Regions from separate parts of the Homo sapiens genome. Here region 2 is linked to region 1. The links are contacts of gene promoters, found by promoter capture Hi-C in human tissues and cell types (Jung and others, 2019). All regions are on one chromosome and are shown on one strand. The core of a region is centred on a gene start or on the middle of the fragment in contact, and the rest is flanking DNA. Distances in the headings are between cores, read along the strand shown.

Region 1 (6,298 bases), core at 1,235-3,734:
GTGAACAACCAATGCCCACTATCTGCCGTTTTCGAGCACTTCAGTTGCGGTGACTTCCAACAGCTCCACATCCTGGTCTTGCCACACCCTCCGGCTTCCTTCTCCCCTCTCTTCTGGAGGGCAGGTAGGGAGACTTCTAGGACTGAGTCGCTCCCTGGCCCACAGTTCTTCCAGGAAAGCCCTCCTCCAGACTTAGCCATGGCAACAGTGGCTGTGCAGTGTCCCTGGGATGGGACAATCTCTCCCCACCTTTTGCACCTATGCTGGGCTGCTTCTAGGGCACCCGGTGCTTGTCCCCGTGCCCATGTAAGATTCATTTGTTGCAGAACAAATCTGGGTGGACCTTGGCAGAGGAGCCTGGAAAGAGGTGTCCAAGGTGGCCGGGGAAACTGGTTTGTCCACAATAGCCCCTGGGCCCACCCTCCAACAGGAACCCCACCCCCCTGTCTCTGCTGGGCCACCTCCATCCTGGGGTTCCCTCCCCAGTCCACCCTCCCCATGCCCCAGCACCCCACCTGACCCTTCTCACAGGGTCCACGGGCCCCTCCCTTGGCCAGGATGACTGGATCTTGTCCCTGAAGTCGGCGTCTGTCCCATGCTCCCCGAGCCCAGCCCTGGGGCCCTCAATGCTCCCCGGACACAGTCTAAGACCTGGAAGTGGAGCCTTGGGAGAACCTCCCCTTTCTGTGAGTCCACCGTGTCTCCCCTCAGAGGTGGGGGGGGAGCCTGCTGAGGGCTCCTCGGTGCTTCTAGCCTCTTCTTATGTTTCCTGCTTTCCTCTTGCTCCCTCCCCTTCTCCTCTCTCCTAAAGTTCCAACCTCACTCCATCCAGGCATGTTTGTTCTAAGTTCTCTCCTTCTCCAGGCCTTTGCCTGTTCTGTTTCCTCCAGCAAACTCCTATGCAACTGTCAAAACCTACTTCAAAAATCCCCTTCTGGGCCAGACTCGGTGGCTCACGCCTGTAATCTCAGCACTTTGGGAGGCCGAGGCAGGTGGATCACGATGTTAGGAGTTCGAGACCAGCCTGGCCAACATGGTGAATCCCCGTCTCTACTAAAGATACAAAAAATTTACCGGGCATGATGGCACAAGCCCGTAATCCCAGCTACTCGGAAGGCTGAAGCAGGAGAATTGCTTGAACCTGGGAGGTGGAGGTTGTAGTGAGCCAAGATCGTGCCATTGCACTCCAGCCTGGGTGACAGGGCAAGACTTTGTCTCAAAAAACAAACAAAACAAAACATAAACAAAATCCTCTCCCTCCCTGCAAATTGTGAGTTTACCCTATTGAACTCCCAAAGCTGACTTGCTGAATATACTCCCACCATAGCACTTCCGGAATGGAGACAGGGTCTCCAATTTTTGGAGATAGGGTCTTGCTCAGTTGCCCAGGCTGGAGTGCAGTGGCACAATCATAACTCACTGCAGCCTCAACCTCCTAGGCTGAAGCAGTCCTCCTGCCTCAGCCTCCTGAGTAGCTGGGACTATAGATGCATGCCACCAGGCCTGGCTAATTCTTTTTAATTTTTTTTTTTTTTTTTTTTTTAGAGATGGGGTCTCACTATGTTACCCAGGTTAGTCTCGAACTCCTGGTTTCAAGCCCACTGGGCTTACTTATTTATTAGATTCCGGAAGTACTGTGGTGGGGGGATATTCAGCACAATCAGCTTTGGGAGTTCAATAGAGTAAACTCACAATTTGCGGATAGGGAGGGAATTTTTGAACTGGACTTTGACAGATGCGTAGGAGTTTGCTGGATGGAGTAACAGCTTCAGGCCCAACGCACAGCTTCTGACAGATCCCCATGTTAAGGGTCTATTCTCAAAGGTATGAAGGTAGTGGAAAAGCCTAGAAATTTTTGTTTGGAGTACTGACAACAGATAGGGAGCCAAAATTCTTGTCTGGTCCCTTTGGTAGGTGGACAAACAGGTTCAAAGAGATTTGAAAGTTTACACCGTTTGAATTGTTAACCTCTTCATTTTGAGAACCAGATGAAAAACCTGGGCCCTTCTCCCTGGGAAATACAGCTTTGCCCAATGTTTTGTCAACATATTTAGGGGCCCCTGATCTCAGCCTAGTTAAGAATCCAGGCTCCAAGAGCCAGGTGAGTTTCCAACGTCACTCTCGCAATTCTCCTTGCTCGAGGGAGGGGGTGGCGGCTTGGGAGGCCCTGAGAGGGCCGCCCAGGTGAGTCCCGGGACTTCTCTGCCCAGGCTGTCGTCCAGGCCCTCCAAAAGTCAGAGCCCCACCTCCACCTTAGTCTCGATCCGAAAACGCGGCCCCGGCAGCCCCTACTAGGCGCCCCCAGCCCGCCCTCACATCCCTCCAGTCCATCGGAGTTTTTCACTCGGAGCCCCGGACCCTCCCCCGAGCCGCAGCCTCTCTCCCCGCCCCGGATCGGAGCCCCCCGTCCCCGCCCCGGGAGCTAAGAGGTGCAAACGCGCCCTCCTCCAACTCCTCCCGCCCCCAACTCCCCCCCGAGTGGCAGCTCTGGGCTGGGAACGCGGCGGGGTCGGCCTCTCGGCTTTGCGTTCCCGCCCCGGGTCCCCGGCGCCGCAGGAGCCCGCCCTGCAGCGCTGAGTCCCGCGCGTCCGCCTGCCGTGCCCGCCTCCACGCGCGCCGCCTCGCAGGTAGGTGAAGGCGCGGGGCCAGCGGCGGGGCGAGATCGCGGGCGCTGAAGGGTGGAGAAGGCGGGGGCGGGGGGGCCGGCAGGGGGAGGGGGAGAGGATTCCTTTGTTCGCAGCCGGGCAGCCCCGGGCCCAGCCCCCTCCCCTCTCCGCCTTCTAGTGGCGCCCGCCGCAGTGGGGAGTGGGGGCGCGGGGACCCGGCGGGAGGGGCTCGGCCGGGGCGCGGGGCCCCTGACCCCACAGGTGAGGGCGGAGCCAAGCGTGGTCGCGGCCGGGGGCCCTGCCGGGTGGAGATCGCGCCCCGCGGGCTCCGGGGGCGCCCCCTCCCCGTCGGCGAAGCTTGGTATCCCTCGCTGTTTGGCCCTCAGCCTCCACACCCCGTGCCGGGCGCGCCTTCTCTGCTCATTCATTCCACAAACTCCAGGGTGTGGCTCGCAGAAGCAGCGGTGTGTAGGGGGGACCGAGGCAAATCAGGCCAGAGACTCCCCCCACCTAATTCCCCCACCCGACCCGAGGCAGGGGGCTGGGGCGGAGGGAGTGGGGGAGGAGGGCTTGCAAGCCCCGAGGCTGCTTGGAGTCCACGGAGCCTCAGAGTGCGGACTGACCCGGACAACTGAGAAGAAAAAGAGGGCGCCCCTCTCCAGCCAGCCAACCCTCCAACGTTGACAGGGGTCTCTCCCTTCTCCGGGGCCTTTGGACAACCAGGTTGGCCCAGAGAGGGGCGTGGCCAAGACCACACAGCAGGGCTCCCCGCCCATTCTCCACCTAGGGCCGGTTCCTTTCCTCCCTGGAACCTGAATGGAACAGGAAGGCCACTTGGTCTGGCTTCTCTCCCTCAAGTATTTTGCCTCCACCCTCCAAACGGTCGTCTCCTGTCCCGGTCTTCTCCCTCCCGTCCTTCATGGCCCAGGAAAGACCCAGCCAAGGGGGGCAGGAGCGAGTTCCGTTCCTGATCTTCTTCCCCTCCTTCTTCTCTTCGTGGGCTTAAGCTCCGGCTTAGCCCCTCACTCATGGTGTGATGGCCTTAGTTTGTGCATCTGTGAAATGGGCACAGAAGCGGTCCCTTCCCTGCTGGGCACAGGGTTACTCTCTGCATTGGGAAGTTCCAGCCCCTGCCTGGGCCCCCTGCCCAGGGAGGCATCCAGCCCTGACCTGGGAGCAGTGAACAGTCAGAGGAGGCTTCCTGGAGGAGGTGTGATGTTAGAAAAGGGTCTTGCGGCTAAGGGTGCACAGCCCAGGCAAGACCGGCGTGGGATGTGGAGGCGAGGGGACACAGGGCCAGGTGGGGCCAGGCATTGCAGGAGTGGGGGTATCTGTGTCACAGAGGGACAGTGGGGTTGTTGCCTTCCACGACTTACCATCTTCCTCCTACCCTGGACGCTCTCTGGGCTCCACCGTCCCAGCTAGAACTTTGGGAATCTCCTCAATGCCCTCCACCTCCCACGACATGAGCCTCCCATTCCTCTCCTCTCTCTCCCATCTGGACAGCCCCCAGCCTTCTGACACCCTGTTTCCCCCCCGGGACCCTGCTGCCCTTCCCCACACCACCTAACATGCATTTCTGACCTTGCTCCTCCCACTCAAAGCTTTTCAAGGGCTCTTCATTGTCCTTGACGAATGAGCAAAAGCTGCATGACACTGCTATGCCCACTCCTGCAACGCCTGGCCCCACCTGGCCCCACCTGGCCCTCTCTCCCCTCCCTTCCACTTCCCACTCCCGTCTTGCCTTGGCTGTGCACCCTCAGCCCCAAGACCCTTCTCTAACATCACACCTCCTCCAGGAAGCCTCCTCTGACTGTTCACCGCTTCCCGGTTGGGGCTGGATGCCTCCTTGGGCTCCCAGAGGCCCCGGGGCTGCCCCATTTGGCAACCACCCTGCCCTCCTCGTTGTGTTGGGTCCCCCATGGCTAGGGTGGGGGGCTCATCTAGGGCTGACTCTGCTTCCTCTCCGCAGCCTCCAGGGGACACGCCATGACTCTGGAGGGTCTGTATTTGGCAAGGGGCCCCCTGGCCCGGCTCCTGCTGGCCTGGTCGGCCCTGTTGTGCATGGCAGGTGGCCAAGGCCGCTGGGACGGGGCCTTGGAGGCTGCAGGTCCTGGACGTGTGCGGAGGCGGGGCAGCCCAGGCATCTTGCAGGGGTGCGTGGTACCTGGGATGCTGGGAGACCCCTTCGGTGTGGATTGGGCTGTCCTGGGGCCAGCGGAATACCCGGGGGGATGTCCACACGGGCAGGGGCTCACCAGACCCATCTCGCTGTCCCCGAAGGCCGAATGTGTGCGGCTCCCGGTTCCATGCCTACTGCTGTCCAGGCTGGAGGACATTCCCTGGCAGGAGCCAGTGTGTCGTACGTGAGTGCTACCGCCGTCTGGAGGTGGGGGGGCACAGGCCGGGGACACTCTTACCTGCCTGCAGGTTCAGCTCTGTTTACACGGGGACTTAGCCAGGGACCTCTGGCTGAACCACAGGAATGGCCCTTGCATCTGCGTCTGTCCTCAGGGTTCCAGGCCAACCTGCCATGTTCATTTCCTTTGCCCTACAACCTCCTTGTGTCTGTCTGTCTCTCTGGTTCCCTTGCTTTGTCTCTGCCTCTCTCTATTCATCTCTGCTCATGTCTCTCTCTGTTGGTTTCTTTTCTTTATTATTATTATTTTTAGAGATGGGGGTCTCTGTGTTGCTCAGGCTGGTCTCAAACTCTGGCCTCAAGCGATTTTCCCATCTCAGCCTCCCAAAGTGCTAGGATTCCAGGTGTGAGCCACTGCACCTGGCCTCTCTCTGTTGGTTACTGTCTCTCTATCTAACTGATTCTCTCTCTCTCTGTTTCTCTGAGTCTCTCTCTGTTTGTCTCTCTCTGGCCTCACCCTCTCTTTCTGTTTCTGTCTCTGGAATCTGACTCCACTTCCCAGGAGACACCCAACCTCAGTATCCAGGACCCCAGCACCTCCAGCTCTGTCCTCACAGCTCAGCAGCTCTGGCCCAAAGAGCATTCTCTCCCCATGGCTCTAGCAGAGTCCCCAACCCACAGCCTGGGTCACACACCCTGCCCAGCCCAGCCCGAGAGTGGGGGGACATCCCATGAAAACAGGGGTGGGGTGTGCTATGAGCAGAGCCGGGGATGCAGATGACCAGCAGCGTCCACTGAGGTGTTCCGGCCAGCCCGGACACCAATGGAGCAGGGACGGCCCAGGCTCGGTCCTGGTCTTGACTGCCACCCGCTGCACTCATCCAGCCATCTGTAGGCGCGCCTGCGGTGAAGGCTTCTGCTCCCAGCCCAACCTGTGCACCTGTGCGGATGGGACGCTGGCTCCCAGCTGCGGGGTGAGCCGAGGTGAGCGGGAAGCGGCCTCTTGCGGGAGGGAGAAGAAGTTCACAGGGTTCTGGTTGCCACGAGGAGCCTGGGCTGCTTTTGTTGAAGGACAGGAGCGGGGCTGAGCATGCCTAGTCCTGCAGCCTTCCTAGGAGGGCATCTCGGGGCCCATCTCCACATTACTATGCGTCCTGCCTTCCTGTCCCCAGGGTCAGGGTGCAGTGTGAGCTGTATGAATGGGGGCACCTGCCGGGGGGCGTCCTGTCTGTGTCAGAAGGGCTACACAGGCACCGTGTGTGGGCAGCGTGAGTATCCCCATGGGACTCCCCTCTTTGCACACCTGGGACTGTGATCCCAGAGTATTAGTCTC
Region 2 (6,160 bases), core at 691-3,190, 41 kb after region 1:
GCTCATGCCCATAATCTCAGCACTTTGGGAGGCTGAGGTGGGAGGATCACTCCAGGCCAGGAGTTGGAGACCAGCCTGAGCAACATAGCGAGACCTCATCTCTAAAAAGTAAAAATAAAAAATTAGCTGGGCATTGTGGTGCACACCTGTAGTCCCAGCTACTCCAAAGGCTGAGGCAGAAGGATCGCTTGAGCCCAGGAGTTTGAGGCTGCAGTGAGCCGTGATTGTGCAACTGCACTCCAGCCTGGTCGACACAGCAAGACCCTGTCTCTAAACATCAATAAATTACGGAAATAAAATAGATATGATTTTCATATGTTGACTGCATGGAACCCAGGGCAGGTAGAGTTCAATGAACAAAACTCTGCCAGGCAGAACAGAGCAGGAGAGGGAATGGGGTTGGAGGGGACAGGACAGACTGGAGGCTCCTGTCCCCTTAGGTTTCTTCCCAGGGAAGGACATGACATTGTCCCACAATCTGGTGCCCAGGAGTTGACCTTGAGCGAGGGCTGTAGCTTCCCAGGATGAAGCTAGGAGGGAGGGGGGCCGAGGAAGGGGCTCCCTGCTGAGGACCGCGCTTCCTCCCTACAGACATCAACGAGTGTGCAGACCCAGTAAACTGCATCAACGGCGTGTGCATTAACACCCCCGGCAGCTACCTCTGCAGCTGCCCCCAGGATTTTGAGCTGAACCCCAGCGGAGTGGGCTGCGTGGGTGAGTCCATGCTCAACTCCAGATCAGGGTTCTGGGGTCAGCAGAGGTGGGTGGGATTGCCCCACTGGGTTAACTCAGATGTCAACGTGTTCAAATCTACCTGCTCCTGACAAACGGGACATCTGCTGGTCTCCTGCAAGAGTGGTTGTCCTTGTCACCTGTTGAAATAGACACATGCATGCACACGCACACATACAGCTTTCCCTCTGACACCTACTAACCATCCCCTTCTGCCTGTTCAGACACTCGGGCCGGGAACTGTTTCCTGGAGACGCATGACCGAGGGGACAGTGGCATTTCCTGCAGTGCCGAGATCGGAGTTGGTGTCACCCGAGCTTCCTGCTGTTGCTCCCTGGGCCGGGCTTGGGGCAATCCCTGTGAGCTGTGCCCTATGGCCAACACCAGTGAGTCCCTGCGGGGCAGTTGAACACCGTGACCTAAGCCACCGAGGCCCGGGAGCTTAGGGGGTCACCTCTGCTAATGGCGGTGGTGGGGGGCTTAGGCGACAGGAAAACCAAGAACTGGGGGAGGAGAGGGGCTCATCCTGGGTCACACAGTGTACGTCTTGGTAGTTCATTGGCTGGGCCTCTCTCCAAGGTCGCTTTCTGTAAATTCTCTGTGTTTATAGTCACTTGATCACTCAGTCAGTCAACAAATATTGAGAGTTCCTCTGTGTCATGTGCTGGGGACTGGGGACTCAGAGAAGGATGAGCCACAGCCTCTGCACGCTGCTTCTCCCTCACCCTTAAATCAACAGTTTCAGGACTGTGAGAGTAGAACTGTCCTAAGGGTTTTCTTTGAGGCATACCCATAGCTCAGGAGAAAGCTGTGGGGAAGTGAAAGCTCTGGGGAAGGCTTTCCAGGGGAGGAGGCTTGAGTGAGGTTTTGAAGGATGTGTAGGAGTTTTCCTAGCAGAGTAGGGGGAATGATGTGCAATGCAGTGAGAACAGTATGTGCAAAGGCCTCAGGTGTGAAACAGGGAGGTACCTGTCCACCTATTCAGGTGTATGCGTGTGTGAATGTCCAAGGTCTTCCTTGCATGGGGAAAACTTGCAGTTACACTAGGATATGGTTTTGGATCAGAAGGAATAATCTTCTCTCCCTCCTACCCCCAGCCACTACCACATAACTCTGCTCACATGTTGAATGGGAACCCACATTTACACACACACACGCATGCACACGCACATGCACACACACACGCAAGCAGCCCCAGGACTGGCCAAAGTCTCTTGGCCCCAAGAGGCTAAAGAGATATGGGGATGTCGTTAGTACAGTAGAAGGATGGGAGCCCACTCTTGAGCCCTTTTCAGGCTTCCTGCTGTTGCTCCCCTGTTTCCCCTAAGCTTTGCCCCAATACCCCACCTCACAGGAGCCTGTTTCCCTTTACAGCTGAGTACAGAACCCTGTGCCCGGGTGGTGAGGGCTTCCAGCCTAACCGCATCACTGTCATTCTGGAAGGTGAGTTCCTGGCAGATCATCCATCCATCTGTCTGCCTAGAGACTGACTTTTCTCTCATCCCCACCTCACCAAAGTGTAGAGTTGAGTAGTTTTGTCCTGGGATGGGGCAGATCTTTCCACCTGGAGGCTGAGCAGCAGGACCACACTATGCTTTTAGTTTGTGTTTAATTTTTTTTATCTGTTCTTTCAGCCATTTCTTCCACTTGTTGGTTTATTGATCTTTTCATTTGTCCCCCATCCTTCCATTCATCCTCCATCCTTCTGTCCATTTATCCTTCCATCCACCCATCCTTCCATCCATTCATCCATCCTTCTACCCATCCATCCAGCCATTCATCCATCTATCCATCCATCCATCCATCCTTCCATTTTTTCCATCCATCCAGTACATCCATACATCCTTCCATCCAGCCATCCTCCATCCATTCTTCCTTCCATACTTCCATACTTCCATTCAACCATCCTCCATCTACCCATTCATCCATCCTCCACTCATCCCTCTCTTATCCTTTTATCCATCCATCTAGTCAACCATTCATTCCCCATCCTTCATCTATCCCCCATCTTTCTGTCCATTCATCCCTCCATCCATCCATCCATCCATCCATCCTTCCACCCGACCATCCATCCATTCATCCATCCTTCCACTCATCCTTCCATCCATTCATCCATCCATCCATCCATCCATCCATCCTTCCACTCGACCATCCATCCATTCATCTATCCTTCCACTCATCCTTTCATCCATTCATCCTTCCACCCATCCAACCATTCTCCATCTACCCATTCATCCATCCCCCCACTTATTCCCCTCCTATCCTTCTATCCATCCATTCACCCATTTATCCCCCATCCTTCATCTATCCTCCATCCTTTCATCCATCCCCCCTCCTTCTGTCCATTTATCCTTCCATCCACCCATCCTTCCATCCATCCATCCTTCCACCCAACCATCCCCCATCTACCCATTCATCTATCCTTCCTTCCATCCAACTATCCTTTATCTACCCATTCATCCATCCTTCCATTCATCCATCCTTCCATCCATCCCTCCATCCTTCCATCCAACCATGCCCCATCCACCCATTCATCCATTCATCACTCATCCCTCTGCTATCCTTGTATCCATCCATTCACCCATCCATCCACCCCCCATCCTTCATCTAGCCCGCATTCACCCATCCATTAACCTATTTCCCACTCTCCCATCCATCCATCTCCCACCCACCTATCTCTCATTCTTCTATCCATCTATTCACCCATCCATCTATCCCCCATTCACCCATCCATCCTCAATACATCCATCCATCCACTCATCCATCCACCCATTTCCCATCCACCCGTTCCCTACTCCCTTTCTATTCCCCCATTCATCCACCCTTCCATCCATCTTCTATCTCCCATCTATTCATCCATTCATCCATCCATCCATCCATCCACTTATCCACCCATTCACTCATTTGCCTGTCTACTCACCTATCCATCCACCTTCCTATCCATCCACTCACTCATCATCTTATTCATTGACCCACTTGCTTATTTACCCATCCACTGTTTCATATCCATGCATCCATCCACTCATCCATCCATTCATCCATCCTCCCATCCATCCTTTCTATAGGGAGTGACAAGGTTGGAGAAGACTATTCTCCATCTAGAGGAAGAAAACTATCTATTTCTCTATCTAGAGGAAACTATGTGGTGGATGGGAGAATGGACTAACAGATGAAGGGAATGGAGTTGAATTTAGGGTAACATTAACTCAAGAGAATCTGTGTCCAGCCATCAAGATAGACCCTTTAAATGTCTATCAGTCATGGACAGCACTTGGGGATCCTCGAGAGGGCCCTGGAGAACCCAGAGCATGGTGTGGGTGCCCCTTAAGTCCTCTGCATGGGTTTAGCTCCCAAGCTTGGCTTCCTTACTTCCTGACAGACATCGACGAGTGCCAAGAGCTGCCAGGGCTGTGTCAGGGGGGTGACTGCGTCAACACGTTTGGCAGTTTCCAGTGTGAGTGCCCACCTGGCTACCACCTCAGTGAGCACACCCGCATCTGTGAGGGTGAGCATGGATTCTCTTTGGGGTGGGTCAGGCTCTTCCGCTCTCTCCCTGCCTTCCTGCCCTGCCAAGCCTCACAAGGGTAGAGGAGGGAAGGCCTCATGGAAAGGCTTCTGCCCCCTGCCTCCTCTTTTGTCATGATCTGTCAGTTCTCTCTTGCTGCCTTTAAGATGTTCATGGCTGCTGTGGATCTGTGGTGTGGGGGATGGTAGATAGACCCTTTAAAATGCCACGACACTCCCTTATGAAGTACAGCAGCTTCCTTCTTCACCATATCTTTGTCTGGATGTTGTAAGCTTTTGACTGATTCCAGAGTTCTGCAAAAGTTTATTTTTGTCTGTTTTGCCAGCTCAATAGTTGCTTTTGTGGAGGAATGGAGCCCTGGAGTTCCCTGCTCTGCTATTTTTGGTGACATCACTCTTACCATGCTAATATTCCACTACCTATTTTTGCCTGCTAGCTAAGAATACTTTATTACACTTTTCTCAACGGTTGAAAAAACCAAAAGAAGAATAACATTTTGTGACACATGAAAATTATATGAAATTCAAGGCTGGGTGCGTGGCAGCTCAAGCTGGTAATCCCAGTACTTTGGGAGGCTGAAGTGGGAGGATTGCTTGAGGCCAGGAGTTTAAGACCCACCTGGGCAACATGGCAAAACCTTGTCTCTACAAAAAATTAAAAAAATAGCTGGGCATGGTGACTCACGCCTGTAATCCCAGCTACTTGGGAGGCTGAGGCAGGAGGATCACTTGAGCCTCGGAAGTCGAGGCTGCAGTGAGCCGTGATTGTGCCACTGTACTCCAGCCTGGGTGACAGAACGAGACCCTGTCTTAAAAAAAAAAAAAAGAAAAAAAAGACTGGGCACAGTGGCTCATGCTTGTAATCCCAGCTCTTTGGGAGGCCGAGGTGGGCAGATCACGAGGTCAGGAGTTCGAGACCAGCCTGGCCAACATAGTGAAACCCCATCTCTACTAAAAATACAAAAATTAGCCGGGCATAGTGACACATGCCTATAGTCCCAGCTACTCGGGAGGCTGAGGCAGGAGAATCACTTGAACCTGGGAGGCGGAGGTTGCAGTGAGCCAAGATGAGGCCACTGCACTCTAGCCTGGGCAACAGAGTGAGACTCTGTCTCAAAAAAAATAAAAGAAAGAAAGAGAGAGAAAGAGAGAGAAAGAAAGAGAAGAAAGAAAGAAAGAGAAGAAGGAAGAAAGAAGAAAAGAAAAGAAAGTTATATAAAATTCAAATTTCAGGGGTCCATAAATAAAATTTCCTTGGAGCACAGCCAGTGCCACAGTGTGTTTGCATATTGTTTGTGTCTGCTTTCTTGCTACATTGGCAGATTGAATAATCATGGCACACTGTAGTTTGGCCCGCAAAACCAAAATGTTCTGGCCCTTTACAGAAAAAGCTTACTACCCCTGGACTAGAGTAATGACCAGATTGAGAATCAATTTTTTTCCCCCAAGAATACTTTATCCATAAGGTCCTTGATTCCTATCATATCATATTAGGAAGACATGGATGATCCTTTCTTGGTGATTATAAAACTGACTCATGAACTCAGGTCATTTTGTTCCTAATAGAAGCAGTATCATCATCAACTTTATTTTTAGGAATTTTTTTTTTTTTTTTTAGAGCCAGTGTCTCACTCTGTTGTCCAGGCTGGAGTGCAGTGGTGTAATCACAGCTTGCTGTAGTCTTGACCTCCTGGACTCAGGTGATCCTCCCACCTCTGCCTCTCAAGTAGCTGGGACCACAGGCGTGTGCCACCATGCCCAGCTAAATTTTCATTTTTTGTAGAGATGGGACCTCACTATGTTGCCCAGGCTGGTCTCAAACTCTTGACCTCAAATGATCCTCCTGCCTTGGCCTCCCAAAGCAGGGATGATAGGCATGAGCCACTGCATCCAGCTTGTAAAT

What was found. The method cuts DNA at HindIII sites, captures the fragments that hold promoters and counts their contacts. A contact is called where the count stands out against the background at its distance.
Region 2: a contact is called between a fragment that was not itself captured here and the fragment with the promoter of FBN3 in region 1, in 1 of the 25 tissues and cell types used here (pancreas).

The regions. Positions count from the first base shown.
Region 1 is chr19:8,145,778-8,152,075 of GRCh38, reverse strand. FBN3 (fibrillin 3) reads left to right here and starts at 2,484. Exons shown (of 64, transcript NM_032447.5): 1 at 2,484-2,627; 2 at 4,579-4,762; 3 at 4,890-4,972; 4 at 5,851-5,949; 5 at 6,138-6,233. The coding sequence starts at 4,596. RefSeq lists enhancers at 3,327-4,297, 4,298-5,269. The HindIII fragment of the contact is 21,800 bases long and covers 1-3,587 here.
Region 2 is chr19:8,104,185-8,110,344 of GRCh38, reverse strand. It overlaps FBN3 (fibrillin 3), which reads left to right. Exons shown (of 64, transcript NM_032447.5): 35 at 592-714; 36 at 957-1,118; 37 at 2,107-2,175; 38 at 4,112-4,237. Among named protein-coding and RNA genes, the nearest start is that of FBN3, 42 kb to the left of the region's middle. The HindIII fragment of the contact is 6,298 bases long and covers 1-5,089 here.